2 separate regions of the Homo sapiens genome follow, and region 1 is linked to region 2. Evidence: promoter capture Hi-C in 16 types of primary human blood cells and fetal thymus (Javierre and others, 2016). All regions are on one chromosome and are shown on one strand. Each heading gives the region's core, a stretch centred on a gene start or on the middle of the fragment in contact. The rest is flanking DNA. Distances are from core to core; before and after follow the strand shown. Region 1 holds the start of H2BC12 (H2B clustered histone 12). Region 2 holds the start of TDP2 (tyrosyl-DNA phosphodiesterase 2).

Region 1 (5,291 bases), core at 1,196-3,695, 2.5 Mb after region 2:
CAAGATCTCGCCGTTGCACTCCAGCCTGGGCAACAGAGTGAGACTCTGTCTGGGGGGGGGGGGGGGGGCGGAATCTGTGCTATCAAGAGAAATAAAATGAGATCATTTTGAAGGGAGAAAAGGGGTGAGGGTGAAAGCAGGAGAAAGTTATGGCCACTTCCACCCAGTATTTCTATTAAAACACAAATGCACTTCCAGAATTTTGTAAAAAGAGCAAAAAGGACTGAAAGTAAATTGTATAAAATCAAGATGATATGTCCATTTGCAAAAATAGTTTGTAAGTCTAAAGGTAATAACAGCAGATAGCTCCAGAGTAAAAATTTTAGTCTATAAAAAGTAGTCAGGTATACCTGAAGGTAGAATTCATTGGCATAGTGTATTTTAGTTTATTTTTTAATTTTATTTGCGACGGAGTTTTGCTCTGTTGCCCAGGCTGGAGTGCAGTGAGGTGATCTAGGCTCACTGCAACCTTTGCCTCCTGGCTTCCAGCAATTCTGCCTCAGCCTCCCGAGTAGCTGGGACTACGGGCACATGCTACCACGCCCCCCCTAATTTTTGTACTGTTAGTAGAGACGGGGTTTCACACTATGTTAGCCATGCTGGTTTTGAATTCCTGACTTCAAGTGATCTGCCCTCCTATATAGGTATAGATATAGATCAGTGCCTCCTATATAGGTAAACAATAAATATAATTATTTGTTGATACATTTCTTAGAATATTAATGTAACCCCAAAATTACTGGTAGGATAAATAAGACTTGGATCAACAGTGAACATATGCTTTGCATGTATGAAGTTTTTCAATATGACCCTGCTAATCTCCAAATGCCTAAGGGCGGGCAATATCCCCAAAGACTAGAACAATGCGTGGCCAAATATGTTAAATACACACACACACACACACACACACACACACACACACACACACAAAATTCCCCTGTGAAACTGGCCTACATTTCTAAATCACAAATTTAGCCAGGTAACAACCTAGCTTAAAATTCGTGGACTCTTTCTTTCACTTGGTTCTTCCAAAAAAGTTTCACACTGCTCATCACCGGCATAGTCATTCTAGCCTCTAATCACACAATAAAACCCACCACCTAATTCTAACCCACCACCTAACACTTAGCTCAAACCCTGTGCTGCTGGGGAAGTTCCCTTCTCCTCTACTCCAACTTCTTGCTTCGGGGCGGACTGTCTCTAGTCTGTCTGTTGTCTCCCCTCTGAATCTACTTGCTTTTCATTTTCCTTTTCTATAAGCTTTCTTGTCAAAAGGAAAAATTACTGATTGGACCAATTGACGCTGAACATGCCTTAAAAACTAGTAAACTATTCCAAAAATCTCCGTGATGATTTCATGTTCCGTTTCTTCACTCCTGAGAAAAGCTGTGCTCCTCCCCTTACCCTTGCAGACTATCCTGCCTGGTGGTCTGGCATCTTCCCGATGTCCCGTGGGCTGCAGAGATGGAATCAGGGGGTGAGGGGGAAGCAAAGCAAGGCAGAGCTGGGTACAGCCTAGAAGAGGTTAAATAAGGTAACTGCTCGAGCGAAAGCCATACGTACTGGAACGCCATCGGGAACCAAATTTACTAATATATAAACTCACGTTAGAACGCCATTACATGGTGGAAAGTACACGTGACACAATAGGCTTTCAACAAGTTCTAACAGGAAGTCACAGCACTCGACACAACGGAAGTATCCATTTTCGCGCCAAGAGCCAGGAAGCACTTTCTGTTAACACAAGTTTCCTGCACATCCCTAATTTTTTAGGCGCCATATTCCTCACTCAGTACTAACAAAGTGTATGTGGCTTCTCCTTAGCCAGACTCGATTACAAGCACTGCATGCATTACTCAGTGTGATAAGATCATGATAATCCCTTTAAAAAGATCGCCCGAATTTAAGCCTGGATTAGGAACACGTGTTTACAGCTCTAATATCGATAATTTAAGTGGCTCTTAAAAGAGCCTTTGGGGTTGGGCTTTAAGACGCTTACTTGGCAAGTTTACTTAGCGCTGGTGTACTTGGTGACGGCCTTGGTGCCCTCGGACACGGCGTGCTTGGCCAACTCCCCGGGCAGCAGCAGGCGCACGGCCGTCTGGATCTCCCTGGAGGTGATGGTCGAGCGCTTGTTGTAATGCGCCAGGCGGGAAGCCTCACCCGCGATGCGTTCGAAGATGTCGTTGACGAAGGAGTTCATGATTCCCATGGCCTTAGAGGAGATGCCGGTGTCGGGGTGGACCTGCTTCAGCACCTTGTACACGTATACGGAGTAGCTCTCCTTGCGGCTGCGCTTGCGCTTCTTGCCGTCCTTCTTCTGCGCCTTAGTCACGGCTTTCTTCGAGCCCTTCTTGGGCGCGGGAGCGGACTTCGCTGGTTCCGGCATGTTGAAGGCGAACTACGAGCCTGAGACGAGCAGCAGATCGAGAAAACGGGAAGTAATGGGAGCAAGGTACCAGGAGTCGTTTTTATATAGGACCTCTCATGCAAATAAGGTGAAGAGTGAAAGTCCTGTATCTGATTGGTGGTTATTAGGGTGACGTCAGAGGTTAGTTATACCCAATCAACCCAATCTGCAAATCCAAAAGACGTACTTCCATTGGTTAAAACTAAGCTACAACCCTAACCAATGACATATCTTCTTTTTCGCGCCCAATAGTGTTTATAAAAGGCGCTGCCTTTCCTCGTTGGCTACTTTCAGTAAGTTGTGACCAGTATGTCTGGACGTGGCAAGCAAGGCGGTAAAGCTCGCGCCAAGGCCAAGACCCGCTCTTCTCGGGCTGGGCTTCAGTTCCCCGTGGGCCGAGTGCACCGCCTGCTCCGCAAGGGTAATTATGCCGAGCGGGTTGGAGCCGGCGCGCCAGTGTACCTGGCTGCGGTGCTGGAGTACCTGACCGCTGAGATCCTGGAGCTGGCTGGCAATGCGGCCCGCGACAACAAGAAGACCCGTATCATCCCGCGTCACCTCCAACTGGCCATCCGCAACGACGAGGAGCTCAACAAGCTGCTGGGCAAAGTCACCATCGCGCAGGGTGGTGTCTTGCCCAATATCCAGGCCGTGCTGCTGCCTAAGAAGACTGAGAGCCACCATAAGGCCAAATAAGGAGCGAGGTTGTGAAAACTGGAAAACAAAGGCTCTTTTCAGAGCCATTCTACACTGTCTTAGAGAAAGCTGGACACAGTCATGTTTGTTTCACTTCATGTTTGCTTCGCTAGATAACATTGTAAAGCGCTTCTTTCGCGGTTGGGCTGGAGCAACTCTTTACAATGTTTCTAAATTAACCCACTGGAAAGCAATGAAGACCCAAAAGTTGTTGTAGGATACTCCGGAGAAGCTTATTCAGCAGGGGTAATAAGTGAAATCAAACGTACAAATCCCTGAAATCTATTTACTAATTCCAGTGGTTTTTTTTTTTTTTTTTTTTTTTTTGAGATGGAGTCTCCAACAGGCTGGAGTGCAGTGGCGCGGCGCGATCTCGGCTCACTGCAACCTCCACCTCCCAGGTTCAAGCGATTCTCCTGTCTCGGCCTCCCGAATAGCTGGGATTACAGGCACACACCACCACGACCGGCTAGTTTTTTTGTATTTTTAGTGGAGACGGGGTTCCACCATGGTGGCCAGGCTGGTCTCGAACTCCTGACCTCAGGTGATCCGCCCGCCTCGGCCTCCCAAAGTGCTGGGATTACAGGCGTGAGCCACAGCGCCCGGCCTCCAGTGTAATAATTCTATTACATTAATAGTGTTGTCAAACAGCCATAAAAATGGGATATACTTGCCATTCTTTAAAGGCAAATTTTGCAATTCTAAGTATTCTTGAAAAGCAAGAAAGGGCAGCCTGATTCTTAAGTGGTCTAACTCTTAAGAGTAACTTTACCCAGGTGATGAAAGTCTAGTGACTCATTTGCATTAGAATTTGATTCCGATGGAAGGAGAATATGGGATGCAGAATTTCCTGAATCCCATATTTGTAAATCCTTAGTCCCATTTCTTTGGAGCAGGTGTATTAATGCACTCTTGTAGTAGCTTAGGATACAACATAGCTTTTTCTGTCTAGCTAATTTGTATTATCAAATTTATTAGATCGGGATTGCTATTGCTTTTGATTGCTTGTCCACATTAATTTACCTACCCTAGGAAGCCCTATGAGTTTCCTTCCTCCGCCCCACCCCCTCTTGATATTACTTGGCCTGCTTTTACTTCATAGCCTCAAGGCTTTCTGGCTATTCCCACAAAATGCCAAACACATTTTCTGTCTTAAGGCCTTTGCACTTTAAATTCCCTCTTCCCCTGATAACTACCTTTCTCACTTTTTTTCAATCTATGTAGGTCTCTGATCAAGTAACACCTATAAAGAGGTCATCTTTGTTTATCTCCTCTCTAAAATGGAGGGCCCCATTACGCTCTCTATGCCTATGGGGATAGGATATATATTAATTGAAATATTACATGTATACATCTTTATTTTTTCTCTACGGAATTCAAGCCACTTAAAAAAGACACCAAAAAATAGTATTAACTTTATGTATTTCACAAAGATTTAAGAGGACATAGTTTGTAATTCAATACACATAGATTTGTTTGCTACTCCCAGTCTTTGCATGCAGAAGCCCAATTGAAAAAGAAATGCAAGAGATGCAGAACGAGAAATTATAATGTAGTGACATATGAGTTCTCGATAAACAGATGCTGAGATGGAGTTTGGGATGCAAAATGTTTATTAGGGCTCAATATCTGTGAAGGGGTGAAGGAAATAGGATTGGGCAAAGGAAAATGTCAAACTATGATACAGGCCAGACAAATGCTCAACCAACCCAGTGGAGAGCTCTGGAGCCAGTATGCCTGTCAAGTTGCCCCCACATTGGGCCAAAGGGGCTCTAGACCACCCTTTTTAACTCCTCTGTGGGTCACTGAATGAGGACTGCCCGGGGAAGGATGCAGCCTTGAGTGGGGAGGAGCTCTGCAGCTGAGGCAAACACTGAGGAAGCTAACAGCTGGTGTCTATCTGCTAACTGTGCTCTCTGCAGTTGGGCTGCAAGCCCTTCCTTGAAGGAGGATCTGGGCAGTGTATTTCCATGTCTATGACATATATTAACATGAATATAAATATCAATGTTAAGTAAGGTCTATGATAGTATCTGTGAGACTGACTTTAGCATGCATAAGTGCATAGCTGGTATTGCTCTTTGACTTTTTTTCTTTTTCTTTTTTTTTTTTTTGAGATGAAGTTTTGCTCTTCTTGCCCAGGCTGGAGTGCAATGGCCTGATCTCGGCTCACTGCAACCTCCAC
Region 2 (4,618 bases), core at 188-2,687:
AATATCTTATCACATCTGTAAGCCAGTGTAGCTGAAAAGACCAAAGGGAAAATAAAGTCTCCACTATGAACAGTCAATTTTACAGGTTGTACATATAGCTGGGAGAATTTTATACATTCAGTAAATATTTATTGGGAGCTTATTATGTGTCAAATGTTGTGTCAGACTTTGGGAAATTAACAATGTACAAAACAGATACTCCTTACTAGATGTGCAGTCTAGTAGGAGACATAAAATAATGAACAGCAATTATAATACGGACTAAGGTATTGTAACAGGGGTCATGCAGGATGCTATAAGAGTACCTAAAAGGGGACTCTTACCCAGACTTAGGACATCAGGAAAAGCTTCCTAGAGATAAATCATGTCTCAGCTTGGGGCTTTAAGACAAATATTAGCAAGGAAGGGAAAAGAAAAAAATTCCAGGCACAGGTAATAAAGATCTTTACGAAGTTTCAAAGACAGGAGAAAATGACCCGTTGGAAAAAAGTAAAAGTTTGATAGGCCTGGAACCTGGAAAGGCAGGTTCTAAGTTATGGAGCCAAATAGTAGAGGGCCTTGTAAGGCAGCTACACTTTTTAAGTGCAGGAACTGGAGAGGGGCACTGAAATAACAGGAGTAGGTGTGCATTAAAAAAAAATAACAACAACAACAAACCTGTTATTCTGGCCGGTCAGCCTAGGGCCTAGAATAAATAAACAATACAGGAAGCAAGGAGACTTCCAAGTTGCCATTTTTCGATAGAAGGTTTAGCCTTCGTTCATTTGTTTCAAACCTCTCGCTTACTTATTTCCTTTCATTTGAGTTAAACATTACATTTCCATCTTTTCCTCCCTGGACCCCAAATCACGTTCGAAGCGACAGTCTGGTGCAGTGTTAGATCCGCTGCTGGGGCGCAACTCCGCGCAGCAGCAGCAACGCAAGCCCTGCTCCTCTGGCTACGCAGCTTGGAGATCTGCCTCAGCATCGTCCGCCCAGCTCCACGGCAGGTCCCAGGACGCGCAGGGCTACCTGGTATCAAACTGCCTCCGTGCGGACTGGCTCCCGCTCCCCTCATCACTTACTAGGTCTTGGGCTCAGAGATGGTTTCAGGTCGGCGTTCCAAGGCGCTCTCCTCCACCGGAGGCTCGAAGTAGGAGTTCAGAGCCCTCTGAAAAACAAAGGCACAAGGGATGAGGTTTGTGCGCTCCACCGACCTAGGTAATGGAGCCGGAAGCGAGGACAGCGAAAGCGTACTTCCATCTCCCAGTCGTTCTCGGCCAGGAAGCACTGAGCCACTGCGGCATCGCAGCTTGCGACCGAGGCAAACTCCACACACAGAAGTCGCCGCTTTTTCACCTCAGGCTCGCCCTCTTCCTCCGCCGCCTCCCTCCCGCCCTCCAGGCAACTCCCCAACTCCATCTTCCTGCCGCCTCTGCACCGCCCCTTTAAGCGGAACAGGAGGCCAACGCGCGGCTCTGCGCAGGCGCCTGTGTCATGGCGCTCCCGCATCAACCGCCCGGCGGGGAAATGCGCTGCTCTCGGAAAACTGGTGCAGCTGCGCCGCAAGGGAGCCGCCGGGGCGGTGGGTGCGAAGCGCGCATGCGCGCTTCGTCACAAGGGTGCGAGGAAAGTCAGTGAGCAAATCGCGGACCACCGGGGCTGCCAGCTCGCCTGACTCCCGGCCTCTTGCGCTCCTAGGGGCGGAGAAGGGTGCGGGCTCTTCGCCCTTTGTGTCCTCCTTCTTTCACTAACTTCTGGACTTTCCAGCTCTTCCGAAGTTCGTTCTTGCGCAAAGCCCAAAGGCTGGAAAACCGTCCACGATGACCAGCATGACTCAGTCTCTGCGGGAGGTGATAAAGGCCATGACCAAGGCTCGCAATTTTGAGAGAGTTTTGGGAAAGGTATGGGAAAGGTAGGGGAGAAGCCGTGGCTTCTAATGAAGGAAAAGAAAGCACCGTGCTTGGTGCCGTTGTGAGCTTTGAATAATTATCTCTTGTTAGGTTGTGTTCTAGTACGCCTGTAAATTCACCTTAGTAATAATGATTATTACTTTAATGGAGCCCCTAAATATGCTGGGTCGAACGCGTAAGTTCTCTATCTAAACATAGATAAGTATGGTTATGACTCGTGGAGACAGTTCCAAGGCTGGGAGGGACTTTGGAGTTTGATCCTTCAACCAACAAACGTCTGCATTGCTCCAGAGAAGAGTAAGAGAAACCTCTGCATTTAAGGCACATTACAGTCTAATTCTCTAGGCTCTAGAAGATTAGAAGATAAATAATTGCAATAAGGTACAAAAGCCAAGTGCTTGGTAGAGTGGTGAACGAAGGGAGAAGTTGTTCCTCTGTAGTGGTTTGGGAAATTTCTCAAAGGCACCCAACTCCTGAAGAAGTAAGTTAGCCCTTGGAGGAAGACTGAGTGCTTTTCTGAGACCAGCACTCACAAAGCCCGAAGGTGTTTGTTTGTTTTTGTTTTTTTAGGATGAGGTTTCGCCCTTGTTGCCTAGGCTGGAGTGCAATGGCGCGATCTCGGCTCACTGCAACCTCCACCTCCCTGGTTCAAACAATTCTCCTGCCTCACTCAGCCTCCCGAGTGGCTGGGATTACAGGCATGCGCCACCATGCCCAGCTAATATTGTACTTTTAGTAGAGACAGGGTTTCTCCATGTTGGTCAGGCTGCTCTCGAACTCCCGACCTCAGGTGAAACGCCTGCCTCCGCCTCCCAAAGTGCTGGGATTACTGGTGTGAGCCGCCACGCCAGACCTTGAAGGTGTTTGTTGTTGTTGTTGTTTTGAGATGGAGTCTTGCTCTGTTGCCCATGCGGGAGTGCAGTGACACGATCTCGGCTCACTGCAACCTCCGCCTCCTGGGTTCAAGTGATTCTCATGCCTCAGCCTTCCAAGTAGCTGGGATGATTACAGGCATGCGCCACCAAGCCTGGCTAATTCTTTATTTTTATTAGAGACAGGGTTTCATCATGTTGGTCAGGCTGGTCTCAAACTGCTGACCTCAGGTGATCCACCTGCCTTGGCCTCCCGAAGTGCTGGGATTACAGGCATGAGCCACCATGCCCCGCCAAAAGCAGGGATTTACTGAAAATGAAAGGACACTCCTGTGTTTGGGGTGTGGAGCAGCAGCTCAGGGGCCCTAATACCCCATTGAAGTCTCCTATTGGCCACTTGGTACTCATCTCATGTAAATGAAGTGGTGACCCACAATTGGCTGTGAAAAGCAACCAATGAAAGGCTAAAGTGAAGTTACAAAGTTGCCCTTATATGCAAACGAAGACGTGGCGTGCAATCAGATGGTGAAGTTACATAGTTACACTCCTATGGGAAGATCTGATTGGTTGCAGAAAGAATAATTTTTTTTAAGGGATAACTTACTTCTTAGCGTAATTTTGCTTTTTGCAACCAATCAGAGGTACTTTCAATTTCCCATCTGCCACACAGAAAAGGTGGGGGTTTGGAAAGGGAGAAGCCTCTGGTTCTTTTGTTACTTGGTGTGGGAAGTTAGGGTTTTACTTTCAATTTAGTTCTAGGAAGTCAGCGTGAAACAGCCCTAGGTTCCCTGCCTCCAGATCCGATTCTCCTGCCTCGCTTGTAAGAAAATCATGCTCCATAAGAAGCATTTATAACTAAACCTTGTGAACCCCAAAAATTTGAGACAGGTATCAGTTAATTTAGAAAGTTTATTTTGCCAAGGTTGAGGATGCGCACGCAGTGACACAGCCTCAGGAGGTCCTGACAACATGTGCCCAAGGTGGTCAGAGCACAGCTTGGTTTTATGCGTTTTAGGGACATATAAGACATCAATCAATATATGTAAAATGAACACTGGTTGGGTTCGGAAAGGCGGGACAACTTGAAGCGGGAAGGGGGCTTCCAGGTCACGGGTAGGTGGGAGACAAATGGTTGCATTCTTTTGAGTTTCTGATTTACCTTTCCTAAGGAGGCAGTCAGATACACATTTATCTCAATGAGCAGAGGGATGACTTTGAATAGAATGGGAGGCAAGTTTGTCTTAAGTAGTTCCTAGCTTGAATTTTCCTTTTAACTTAGTGATTTGGGGGCCCAAGATATTTTCCTTTACATTTGCCCCCTTTTCTTTTTTTTAAAAAAAATTTTTTTTTGGAGAAAGCATTTTAGAAGAAAAATGAGTCTTTGGTCCCAGATTTCATCTGATCGCTCATGCTAGGATGGTTTATTCCTAGACAGGTAAGTCCCAAGTTATTAGGAAAGCTAATTTTTAGAAGGCTGTGAACTCCCATGTCTTGTGAAGAGAAAATAGGGGGAGGAAGGGTGAAAAACAACAAACAAAAGAACAATCCTGGAAAATATACATAGGCCACGTTATTCTGAAGTCCATACATCAGTAGGCAGGTATGAAAGTGGCTTATGCGTGTAAATAGGTTGCTGTTATTTTCTTCTGAAGTTTAAGTTGTCTAGCTTCAGTTTGCAGGGCTTTACAAAAGCACAGCTGTTTTCAGTGACTCCTAATTAGGAAAAAAAAGGAAAAGAAAAGAAAAAAATTAAAAATATTATTTTGGAGACTTGTAGCCAGGAAAAATTAGAATTCAGCCTAAACTGTAGAAAATAATAAAAATTGAAAAAATTAGGCAAGACTAGTATCTAAC

What was found. The method cuts DNA at HindIII sites, captures the fragments that hold promoters and counts their contacts. A CHiCAGO score of 5 or more calls a contact.
Region 1: a contact is called between the fragment with the promoter of H2BC12 here and the fragment with the promoter of TDP2 in region 2, in 1 of 17 cell types (M0 macrophages). The highest score is 5.5, in M0 macrophages.

What each region holds. Positions count from the first base shown.
Region 1 is chr6:27,144,410-27,149,700 of GRCh38, forward strand. H2BC12 (H2B clustered histone 12) reads right to left here and starts at 2,446. Exons shown (of 1, transcript NM_001312653.2): 1 at 1,952-2,446. The coding sequence starts at 2,389. The coding sequence ends at 2,009. It overlaps H2AC12 (H2A clustered histone 12), which reads left to right and starts at 2,697. Exons shown (of 1, transcript NM_080596.3): 1 at 2,697-3,153. The coding sequence starts at 2,720. The coding sequence ends at 3,106. It overlaps MIR3143 (microRNA 3143), which reads left to right and starts at 3,217; the gene lies at 3,217-3,279. RefSeq lists enhancers at 1,344-1,453, 1,873-2,789, 2,044-2,503, 2,834-3,083 and a silencer at 4,863-4,912. The HindIII fragment of the contact is 2,078 bases long and covers 1,259-3,336 here.
Region 2 is chr6:24,665,462-24,670,079 of GRCh38, forward strand. It overlaps TDP2 (tyrosyl-DNA phosphodiesterase 2), which reads right to left and starts at 1,438. Exons shown (of 7, transcript NM_016614.3): 1 at 1,237-1,438; 2 at 1,065-1,150. The coding sequence starts at 1,401. ACOT13 (acyl-CoA thioesterase 13) reads left to right here and starts at 1,616. Exons shown (of 3, transcript NM_018473.4): 1 at 1,616-1,883. The coding sequence starts at 1,803. It overlaps LOC124901279 (a long non-coding RNA gene), which reads right to left. Exons shown (of 2, transcript XR_007059509.1): 2 at 3,656-4,477. RefSeq lists enhancers at 484-1,156, 1,157-1,828, 1,360-1,654. The HindIII fragment of the contact is 8,130 bases long and covers 346-4,618 here.